Linked DNA regions of Homo sapiens: regions 2 and 3 are each linked to region 1. Evidence: promoter capture Hi-C in human tissues and cell types (Jung and others, 2019). All regions are on one chromosome and are shown on one strand. Each heading gives the region's core, a stretch centred on a gene start or on the middle of the fragment in contact. The rest is flanking DNA. Distances are from core to core; before and after follow the strand shown.

Region 1 (3,705 bases), core at 130-2,629:
CTTTCTTATGAAGAGAGGTCTGGACTACAACGGGGGGGCTGTGTGTGTGAGGGATTCACAGCTCTAGCTTTGGATCTCCCAAAGAGGGGTCCGGAGCAGACTGTGGCACCCCAAGCCAGTCACTGAATCCCCATATTTTATGGTTAAGCAGCCAAACATGCCAATTCACTCTCTAGGCTCTGCTAGATAAACAATGCCCTTACTCAGTTACCAAAGAGGAATTAAAGCCTGTTTCTCAAGTCACCATGAGAAAGCAGAAAAGAGAGGAAGTCACTTCCGTATTAGGTGCTCGCAGCATTCATCCATGAAGCGTTTCATGATTTTCTTAAAAAATATTACTTGTTCTCAACAAAACATAGACACAAGGCTCGTCTACTCTGCACTGCAGAGGACAGAAGAGCTAAGTATTAATAAATAATCCTTCTTTGTATTTTCCAAGTTCTCTCCAATGTAAACAACTCAAGCCCAGGAAAATCCAGTATTTAACAGTGTACCAACCCTGTGCTTTCATGGGCACCGGCTTTTACCCACCCGGTGCGTCTGGCGGTGGCTGTCCAGCAGGCCGGGCACCTGCCGCCCACGGAGTTGTCCCACTGGGCACCGCAGGGCTCAAGGGCGATGGCAGCACTGGCAGCTTCTGGTCAGAGCTAGCTGATGTCCCCGCTCTGCAGACATCAGCCCAACAAAATTGCATCTCGCTGACCACAAACTGGCCACGTGGAAGTCAGCTCGAAGCTCTACCCTGAATCTCTCCTGAACTCAAAGGCTCTGAAAGCTGCCTCGACCCATGAAGGTGCACAGAGGGGCTCCCGCGGGCTGCCCACAGCCCGTCCCGGGTGCGGGGTCTGAGGGCGCAGCCGACCCCACCCTGGGCGGAGGGCGAGGCTGGGGCTCCGGCTTCGTGCCCCACGGCTCGCAAGGACCCGTCAGTACCGCCCGCACCGCTGACCCCAGCACCGAGCCCCTCACGGCTGACCCCAGCTCCTCACGGCTGCCCCCGGCCCTGCTCCCTCACGGCCGACCCGGGCCCCGTTCCCCTCACGGTCGCCGCTGGCCCTGCGCCTCTCACGGCCGACCCGGGCCCCGCTCCCCTCACGGCTGTCCCTGGCCCCAACATCCGGCACCTGCGCTCATTCCTCCCGGAACGAGCCGCCCGGGGCACCGCCACCCGGTCCGCGTCCCGGAACGGGAGACCCGGGGAAATCGGGGCGCCGGGGCCTCTGGAGGGCGCTTGCGCCGCGCCCGGGCTCCGCGCCGTCCTCACCGTGGAAGTCGCCCGTGTCGGCCACCACGGTGGTGAACTGCTTGAGCTGGTCCAGCGCGGACTCCATCCTCTGACGCTTCACGGGTGAGCTCGACATAGCAAGACCGAGGGGTCTGCGGCGGCGGCGGCGGCGACGGGACGGGCGCGCGGACGGCCCACAATGCCCCGCGGGCGGCTGCCAATCGGAAAGCGGCGCGGGAGGGCGAGGCCCGCTGGTCCCTGCGCGCCTGGACGAAGCCCCGCCCCCGGGGACGAAGCCCGAGCGCCACTGCCGGCCGCGCACCGCAGCTGCGGATCCTACAGGCTGGGTCTCCCCAGGTCCTCAGCAGCCGCCGCGGACGGGCCCGGGAAAACACCTGCACGACACGGGGCGGCTGGGCCTCGCCTCCTTCCTGCCCCGCGGGACGCACCGGGAGGGCTGGAGGAGATGGACCTGGCCCGGGTGCCGACTCTGCGGGGCTGAACCCGCCAGGGCCGAACCCGGCGATGCAGGATCCATGGTGGGGCCAGGACTGGGGTCGGGGGCCGCTGCAGGAAGCAGGGGAGGGAGCGGCGGGGGACGCCCTGCGGGTGCAGGAGGCAGAGCAGGGGGCGGCTGCAGAGCCCGGGCGCCGGACGCGGCGGGGAACCTGCTTCTGGGAATCTGTTCCCCTGAGTCCTAAGCCCAGAGGTGTCCGGGGGACCGAACGGCGAGGCAGGCGTAGGAGGCCCAGCTGCCCTGCTTCTTACCATCGCTGACTTGCAGAGTTCCTTGTATATTCTGATCAAGTCTCTGTCGCTTGTGTCTGCGTTGCAGACACTGTAACCGCCCCATGGGTTCGCCTTGCCAGCTGCCGGGACAGAGTCTATTGTCAAGACAGGGGAATTGCAATAGAGAAAGCATAATTCACACAGAGCCGATTGTTCGGGAGACCAGAGTTTTATTCCTCAAATCAGTCTCCCCAAAACTCGGGGATCCCAGTATTTAAGAATAATTTGGTGGGTAGGGGGCCAGTGAGTCAGAAGTGCTGACTGGTCAGCTAGGGATGAAATCACAGGGAGTCGAAGCTGTCCGCTTATGCTGAGTCAGTCCCTGGGTAGAGGCCACACAACTGGTTGGCAGGTCCAGGTGGGGCCATCCGGTTGTCAGAAATGCAAAAACCTGAAAAGACTTTTTTTTTTTTTTGAGACGGAATCTCGCCCTTGTTGCCCAGGCTGGAGTGCAGTGGCGCGATCTTGGCTAACTACAACCTCCGCCTCCCGGGTTCGAGCGATTTTCCTGCCTCAGCCTCCCGAGTAGCTGGAATTACAGGCGCTCACCACCACGCCCGGCTAATTTTTGTATTTTTAGTACAGACGGGGTTTCATCATGTTGGCCAGCATGGTCTCGATCTCCTGACCTCGTGATCCGCCCACCTCAGTCTCCCAAAGTGCTGGGATTCCAGGCGTGAGCCACCGCGCCCGGCGGAAAAGACTTCTTAAAAGGCAAATCCTAGGCTGACGCGGTGGCTCAGGCCTGGAATCCCAGCACATTGAAAGGCCAAAGCAGGCGATCACTTGAGGTCAGGAGTTGGAGACCAGCGTGGCCAACATGCAAAACCCCGTCTCTACTAAAAATACAAAATTAGCCAGGCGTGGTGGCACATGGCTGTAATCCCAGCTACTTGGGAGGCTGAGGCAGGAGAATGGCTTGAACCTGGGAGGTGGAGGTTGCAGTGAGCCGAGATTGTCCCTCTGTACACTAACCTGGGCTACAGAACGAGACTCCATTTAAAAAAAAAAAAAAGGCCAACCCTAGGTTCACAGTAGTGTTGATATCTTGGGGAAGTTGCAAATCTTATCTTATGACCTCCAGAATAATGGCTGATAATATTTAGACTTCCAGCCCCTCTCATTCTAACTTGGTGGCTGGTGGCCTTTCATTCATTTTACAAGAACAGTCTAGTTTTGGGGAAGGGCTATTATTTAAACTATAAATTAAATTCCTTCCCAAGACTTGTTTGGCCTATGGCCAGTAATGGACAAGGACCGTTTGAAGGTTAGAAACAAGATGGAATTGGTTAAGTCTGTTATCTTTCACTGTCATAATTTCCTTAGTTATAATTTTGCAAAGGTGGTTTCAATACTTCCTCTCAGCATGTGTTCCCTTTTCATTTTAATAGTGTCTTTAATGAACGTTAGCTTTTTATTTTGATTAAGTTCAATTTATCAAGTTTTAATTTTATATTTACTCCTCTTTTTTGGTATCTTCTCTAAGGAGTCTTTGCTTGCTCCAAAGTGACAAATTTTTTTTTTTTTCTGGTGAGATGGAGATTTACTCTTGTTGCCCAGGCTGGAGTGCAATGGCGCGATCTCAGCTCACCGCATCCTCCGCCTCCCAGGTTCAAGCGATTCTCCTGCCTCAGCCTCCCGAGTAGCTGGGATTACAGGCATGGGCCACCATGCCCGGCTACTTTTGTATT
Region 2 (3,512 bases), core at 97-2,596, 290 kb before region 1:
GTTCCACAAAACTGAAGCTGATTTAAGTGAAACACGCGACACCTACTGTGTATGGCACGCGTGGCCCTGGGGCCTCTTCCGGGGGCAGGTGGGGCAGCTCCCGGGCGTGTGGGCACAGGTGGGACAGAGGTGGCAGGCCCGGGTCCCAGCCAGCAGGCTCAGCTCACCTGTGGGATGGGGGTGCAGCCCCATGTGGGGAGCCCGGCCCAGGGAGACCAGGCGGCCTCGGAGTCCCTCCTGGCTCAGGCCGGGATGCTGACGTGTGGTGGGAGCAGCCCCGAGGCCAGCGAGGGCTCCTGTCGGAGTCGGGGACCAAAATCCCCTTTGGGAGGGGTCCCTGGGCTGCCAAACGAAGCTGGGGCAATCCTGGTGACCACTCAGACCTCCACCTCCCTCCCCCCCGCCAGCCACCGGCACCACCCCGATGTCACCAGACCTTGCCCTGTCCCCGGCCCCTCAGACGTGGCACGTGCCTCCACAGGCAAGGCCCCCTGGTCATCCCAGTCCCTGCCCCTCTGCCTGAAGGGGTCAGGAGCATACCGGCGACCCCACAGCCCCGCAGAGATGCCCCAGCAGACGAGCAGCCCCCGAGTTCCTGTCCTCAAGATGGCTGCCAACAGCGCTCGAAGGGGGAAGAAAACAGCTGTGGAGGGGTCTTCAGGAGCAAGCCTGGGACCTGGCGGGCTGCAGAGACACGGTAGCTCCTCAGGCCTCCAGGGCAGCCTGTCTAAGCCCCAAGGCCGCTGCCTGTCCCAGACGGCGGAGCCCCTGCTCCCCAACACCCCCTGGCAAGGTCCCTCCCGCTGGGTGATCTTTCCTGTTGGGCAGGGAACTCAGGGGTGGGCCCAGGGCCCTTCAGGGGGTGCTGGGATTCAGGGTGAGGGGTGGGCCCAGTGCCCCTCAGGGGGTCCTGGGATTCAGGTGCAGCAGGGTTCCCCCCAAGCTGGGTCAGCACTGGGCTCCCCGGAAGGGGCAGAGCAGGTGCCCCAGGGCCCCCGACCTCCCCCAACAGGTCCATCCCGGCCACCAGGCGTGTGGCTGACAGTGCCACGTTGACCCAGCAGCGGGGAGGGCCCGGGCCAGGATGGCCCCCATGCAGGGGGTGTTTGCAGGACCTTTGGGGGCGTGCGTGCGTCAGCCCCCCGCTGGGAATGGGTGATAATGGGGCCGCTGCCTGCAGGATTTTCCAAAGAAAGCCGAGTCCTGATAAAGCAGGCCCAGATCCTGTTTGGCCACCGCGGCGCCCGCCGGCAGTGGTGATTAAGGGGCTGGACCGCGGGGCGCAGGCAGGTGCGGCGGGGGAGGGCCCGCCAGCCTATATAAGGCACCCAGGACCGGCCGTTGGAGCCGCATGGATGGCAGCAGCAGGCCTGCCGGGCCCAGCGCGAGCTCCTCTCCACTGTGCACCATGGTCCAGCGGTGGCTGCTGCTGTCCTGCTGCGGAGCCCTGCTCAGCGCTGGTGAGTGAGGTCGAGGGGCGCCAGACACTGCGGTGCCCTCAGAGGGGCCCTGTGTGCGGGGGTCTCTGGGCCTTCTCGCCTCGACAACTCGGCTGGCCCACATGGACGCTGATGGACGGGAGGCCCCAGCTCGGCTCCGTGACCAGCCCCCGCTGCCAGGCCCGGGTCCCCCCAGCAGCCGCGGTGCTGGGCTCTGCCAATTGGGGTCAGGGACCCCATGGGGCCTGGGCAGGGACGCCCTCCTGTGAGCTGGCACAGCAGCCAGCGGGGGAGGACGCTCAGCTGGAGTGGGGTCCGGCACTCCCGCGGGAACAGTGGGCAGGTGTGCTGGTGCCCAGCCCTGGCGCTCTCCCTCCCCGAGTGGGGTCCTGAGTCCTGAGAGGTCTCTGGAGTGTGGGGGACAGAGGCACAGTCTCTGCTGGGCCCTGGGCCTCGTTTCCTAGTCTACAGAAGTGGGGGACGCTGCCTCCCCTGGTGTGGCCGCCGTGGGGGGAAGAGGGGGGAAGGTGTACGGCCATCCTGGGCTCAGAACCGCCGCAGGCAGCCTGCCCTCTCCCCCGCGCTCCCCTACCCAGCTCGGGCAGGATCCAGGAGGGACTGACATCCTGGATCCTCTGCCAACCGCCTGCCCTGCGGCTGCTGCAGGTGACCATCAGTCCCTCCCCAGGCCCCCAGAAGGAGCCAGCCCCAAGGGGTCCCTCTGTGGCCGCAGCCTGAGACCTGGGGAGACCCCTCTTGCCGACCAAGGCACCAGCCCAAGGGCCTCTGTGTTCCGTGCTCCTCCTTCCTCTCCAAGCTGGCCCGACCCTCCTCCACAGCCGGGAGCCCCCTGGGGTGGACGCTGGCGTGACAGAGCTCGCCCTCGGAGCTGCTGCCAACCTGGGCGCCTCGGGCTCAGAGCACAGTGGGACCCCCCCAGGGGTGTCCCACTGTAGGGCGACCCAAGCCCACCCCACCCCTTCTCTCCTTTGAAGCCCCTTCCCCACCACGCCGGGCACCACCCTTCAACCGTGGGAGATGTGGGGGTCTCTGAGCTCGCTCCCCACCACGCCGGGCACCACCCTTCAACTGTAGGAGATATGGGGGTCTCTGAGCCCGCTCCCTACCACGCCGGGCACCACCCTTCAACCGTGGGAGATGTGGGGGTCTCTGAGCCCTCCCAGCGGTGCCCTCTGCTTGGGACCCCAGCCCCTACCTGCACACCTGGCACAGCTTGGGGACAAGTGCCAGGAAGTGGGGCTAAACTTGCAGCAGAGTGCGACCCCTAGTCCCTCGGGCCACCACCCTGGAGCCAGGGAGGGAGGTGTGGTGAGGCCCAGAGAGGCTGGAGGTCTGGGCTGTGGGCAGTGCAGAGGGTGGAGGGCCAAGTGGGGGTGTCCACCCGTCACCCCAGCAAATAATCTCTGAGCGCCATCTCTGCCAACATGGGAGGGGCCTCAGCCAGCAGAGTGTGGGGTCGGACAGACGGGCTGCAGGCCTGGGCCGCGGTGGGCCGGGAGGCAGGGGTGGGCGGCCGCCAAGCGTGCAGAAGGAACAGTGCGCACCTGCCGCCTCGTGCTCGTCCAGGGGCTGAGAGGCCGGGGGTGGCGGACCAACCCGCCCAGATGCCCATGCGCCTGGCCAAGGGATCAGCCGAGGGGAAGCACAGCCAGTCTGGGCAGGAACGCAGGAGTCTCCCGCTGGACTTCAGAGCTGGAGGCAGCCGACTTGGAGCCAGTGGACTCGGGGAACCTCCTGCGGGTGGGGCAGGGCGAGGGCGGCGGGGGGCGCAGGGGGTGCAGCAATGAGGCACCCACCCGGGGCAGTGAAGCCAGCCTGGCAGGGCTGAGGGCACCGAAACACAGGCCCGAGGTGTCTGTGCTACAGCGGGGACGGCCCCCAAGTGCCACCCCCCATCGGAAAGGTGGAGAAACTGAGTTGCAGGGGGCATTGCCCAGGGGAGACCGGTCACAGCTCTGCAGCCTCCAGAGGTGCTGGCCCAGGGGCAGGCAGCCAACTGCTCCTCCCGCTCAGAGCTCTCCCACCCCTCCCCCACCAGAGGCCAGCGAGGGC
Region 3 (3,443 bases), core at 875-3,374, 310 kb after region 1:
TCACCTCGTGATCCACCCACCTCTGCCTCCCAAAGCTCTGGGATTACAGGCATGAGCCACCGCACCCAGCCGAAGATTGTTTTAACACAGTGTGAAAACATGAGCACAGAGACCCCTGAGCGGGCTGAGCTGGGGACTGGGGAGCGACACCCGTCACGGACGGTGCAGGGGCTGGGAACGTGGATCTTGCGTGTGAGTTCCTCCCATACTCAACAAGCCTTGCACATTCTGTTTCTGAACTAGATCTAACTTGGCAGCTGTGACCCCCTGGTGAGACTGCCGGATGTTCCCTCTCCCGCTTACCCTGCTTTCTTCCATGGGAAAAGAGCTCACATGCCCCAGGCTTCCTTGCCATAGAGTGTGGTCACGTGACTAACCATGTGAAGGGTGAGGTTCCCTCCTTCGCCCTTTCCTCTTCCCACTGGCTGGAACGTGGATGTGATGACTGGAGCTTGAGCAGTCATTTTGGACCAGGTGCTGGGACCATGTATTTAAGGTGGCAGAGCAACAAGCTGAAGGCATTCTGGGTCTCTGATGACTATAGTTCGGCCATACTAGTCCAGGACTAGCCAACTCCAGATTTTTGTTTTGCTTTGTTTTAAAGACAGAGTCTTACTCTGTCACCCAGGCTGGAGTGCAGTGGTGTGATCTTGGCTCACTGCAACCTCTGCCTCCCAGGTTCAAGCGATTCTCCTGCCTCAGCCTCCCGAGTAGCTGGGATTACAGGCGTGCACCACCATACCTGGCTAATTTTTGTATTTTTAGTAGAGACGGGGTCTCACCATGTTGGGCAAGCTGGTCTCGAACTCCTGACCTCAGGTGATCCACCCGCCTCGGCCTGCCAAAGCGCCGGGATTACAGGCATGAGCCACTGCGCCCGGCCAACTCCAGATTTCACTTATAGGAGAAATACACAGCTTGTTTAAGCCACCACCATTTTGCACACAGATCTGAATGTGTTCCATTTGGATTTGCCCCATCTGAGCTCACAGGTCCTCGGCCACCACTTCACTCGCTTGTCTTTGCCAAAGTGGCAAAGCTGTGGTCTCTGCTGCCATCCCAGCCTGCCAGGAGGTCCCCCAAGGAGAAACATGGGTGGGACCATGTTACCCCTTGGGGAAACCAGAGCCGACTGTTGGCCCTGGGCCTGGACCACAGCAGAGGGCTGCTGGGCTTGCCGGGGGGTGCTCTGGCCCCAGTGGGCCTGGAGCCGTTCCGTGTGACAGCGTCTGCCTGCGGAGCTCTGGCCCTGCCTCCCCAGCTTTGCAGCAGCTTTCAGAAGCAGACTCCTCGCCACACACGCTGCAGATAATGTGTGCCAGCCCACGGCCTGGGCCCCCACTCCCCGCAGCCCTTCCCTCCTCAGGGCACTCCACTGGACGGTCACTCTCAGGACACCCAGAGCCTGCCCAGCTGCCGCCCTCAGCCCAGGCTGCACAGAACGTGCTCAGGGACTGGGGATGCGGGGTGGAGGGCTCCTCCTCCGTTGTCTACACAGCCTGGGGCCAGCCACGTGTCCCCAGGACTCCAAGGATTCCCCAGTGGGGCCCAGAAAGCAGGGGCTTGGGTAGGAGCAGACAGTTTCTTTGGGAGTCTGTCTCGTCGTCAGTCCTCCTTGCCCCAGTTTCTCCTCTAAGGGAATCAGCACTGGACCTGTGGGGTGGGGGGCCGTGGCCCGGGGTGGGGGGCCGTGGCCCGGGGTGGGGGAGGCCGTGGCCCGGGGTGGGGGAGGCCGTGGCCCGGGGTGGGGGGCCGTGGCCCGGGGTGGGGGGCATGGCCTGGGGTGGGATGCTTTTGGAGGGAACATGGGGATGTGTGAGCGGGGGTGAGAGAGGCAAGGCAAGTGGGGGCGTTGGTGCTGGCTCTGTCAGGGGCTCTGTGCCATCCTGCTTCCCCCTAGGACCAGGTGTCATGAGACCCATCTCACAGTGGAAACCCCCTTCCCGGGAACTCCAGCCTAGGAATTCCCCTCTGGCCCCTGACCCGCCATCTGGGCTCCAGGAAGGTGTCCCAGGCTCCAGGGGCTGGGGTACTCTCCTGGCCTGGATGCTGGCTCCGCCCCGACTACACCCAGGCGCGGCAGCTGCAGGACGCTGGAGGAGGAGGAGGGAGGGGCGAGCCCCACGCGGAAGTCAGGTAGGAGCACCCGCCGCTGGCAGCCACTCTCCTGGCCGCCAAACCCCAGCTGGAACTCCGGCCACAGCCAGCATGCAGGTGAGTCCTGCGCTCAAAAGGGTCCACACCTTCAAGGCCCCCAGCCACGCCCACACCTGGGGCCCCCGGCCCCAGCCCCCCGCCAGCCCCACCTGGAAGGCGCCTGTGTGTGTGGGGGGGGTCCCTGCAGGCTGCCCGGTCAGGCGAGGGTGACCGCCCGGCTCAGCTAAGCTGCCTCCTGGACTCCTGGGGCACGCTGGGGGTTGGAAGTGCTGGAGGCGGGCGGCGTTCCTCCCTCCAGCCCGGGATTCTGAGGGCACCAGGGCTGGGCTCTCAGCTAGTGTGTGGGGCCAGGAACCTCTACCAGAGTCCTGAACACGAGATGGAGAGGGCCTGCCCACCGAGGCGGGGGCTGCTGCTGAGGACCCCAGACCTGGCAGCTTTGCCTTGCAGCTGGCCCCTAAGGGGGAGCGGGCTGTGGGCACCAGGCAGGCTGCCCCAGGGTTGGGAGCTGCAGAGTGGCCGGCGGGCTGTGGGCTCTCTGCTCCCCAAGGACCCCGCCCAGCACAGGTGGGGGCCGACTGCTGCTGCTGGATTCCGATTCTGGGGGTGGGCGCTGACTGCTGCTGCTGGATTCCGATTCTGGGGGAGGGAGTGCAGGTGAACACGTAGAAAGACATCCTTTCTCCCCTCTGCCAGTGAAGAGGTCACCTGGGGCCAGGGCCAACACCTGGGCAGGTCAGCACCTGGTCGGCCCAGGGAGGAGGCAGTGGTGAGGTGTGGAGTGAAACCAGCCTCCCTCTCGGCCTGCCAGGGCCTCCACGTGTGGGCTGCGCCGGCGGCCTCTTGCTCCATCTCCGCCCAGGGCTCTCCTCGGCCCTCCACATCCAGGTCTGACACCCTGGCTGCTCAGCCCAGCACCTGATGCCCCTTAGCCTGAGCTCAGGGTCCCCTCTGCCAGCCCCTTCCTCCCATGCTGGGGGTTAGAGGAGAGACTTGGGGCTGGCCAGGGGTTGGGTTGGGAGAAGCAGCACCTGGTTTGTTGGAAGTGAGAGCATCAGTCCTTCAAAAAAGACAGTTGCAGCCGGGCCTGGTGGCGCATGCCTGTGGTCCCGGCTACTCCGGAAGCTGAGGCAAGAGGATTGCTTGAACCCGGGCGTCGTGGCATGCACCTGCAGTCTCAGCTACTCAGGAGGCTGAGGCAGGAGGACTGCTCGAACCCGGGCGTGGTGGCGCGTGCCTGCGCTCCCAGCTACTCGGGAGGCTGAGGCAGGAGGACTGCTGGAACC

The links. Contacts are between HindIII fragments. The study calls those that stand out against the background at their distance.
Region 2: a contact is called between the fragment with the promoter of MUC6 here and the fragment with the promoter of TALDO1 in region 1, in 2 of the 25 tissues and cell types used here (liver and pancreas).
Region 3: the fragment with the promoter of ANO9 here is called in contact with the fragment with the promoter of TALDO1 in region 1 in 4 of the 25 tissues and cell types used here (H1 embryonic stem cells, dorsolateral prefrontal cortex, small bowel and 1 more).

Annotation. Positions count from the first base shown.
Region 1 is chr11:745,138-748,842 of GRCh38, reverse strand. TALDO1 (transaldolase 1) reads right to left here and starts at 1,379. Exons shown (of 8, transcript NM_006755.2): 1 at 1,265-1,379. The coding sequence starts at 1,361. LOC105376509 (a long non-coding RNA gene) reads right to left here. Exons shown (of 3, transcript XR_930962.3): 3 at 1,881-2,094. RefSeq lists silencers at 779-868, 969-1,258, 1,319-1,918 and enhancers at 1,098-1,746, 2,049-2,108, 1,747-2,395. The HindIII fragment of the contact is 22,782 bases long and covers 1-3,705 here.
Region 2 is chr11:1,034,552-1,038,063 of GRCh38, reverse strand. It overlaps MUC6 (mucin 6, oligomeric mucus/gel-forming (gene/pseudogene)), which reads left to right and starts at 1,346. Exons shown (of 33, transcript NM_005961.3): 1 at 1,346-1,460. The coding sequence starts at 1,409. The HindIII fragment of the contact is 28,311 bases long and covers 1-3,512 here.
Region 3 is chr11:440,692-444,134 of GRCh38, reverse strand. ANO9 (anoctamin 9) reads left to right here and starts at 2,124. Exons shown (of 23, transcript NM_001012302.3): 1 at 2,124-2,214. The coding sequence starts at 2,209. It also overlaps the pseudogene RN7SL838P. RefSeq lists enhancers at 726-1,523, 1,831-2,100 and silencers at 1,932-2,226, 2,271-2,350. The HindIII fragment of the contact is 11,307 bases long and covers 1-3,443 here.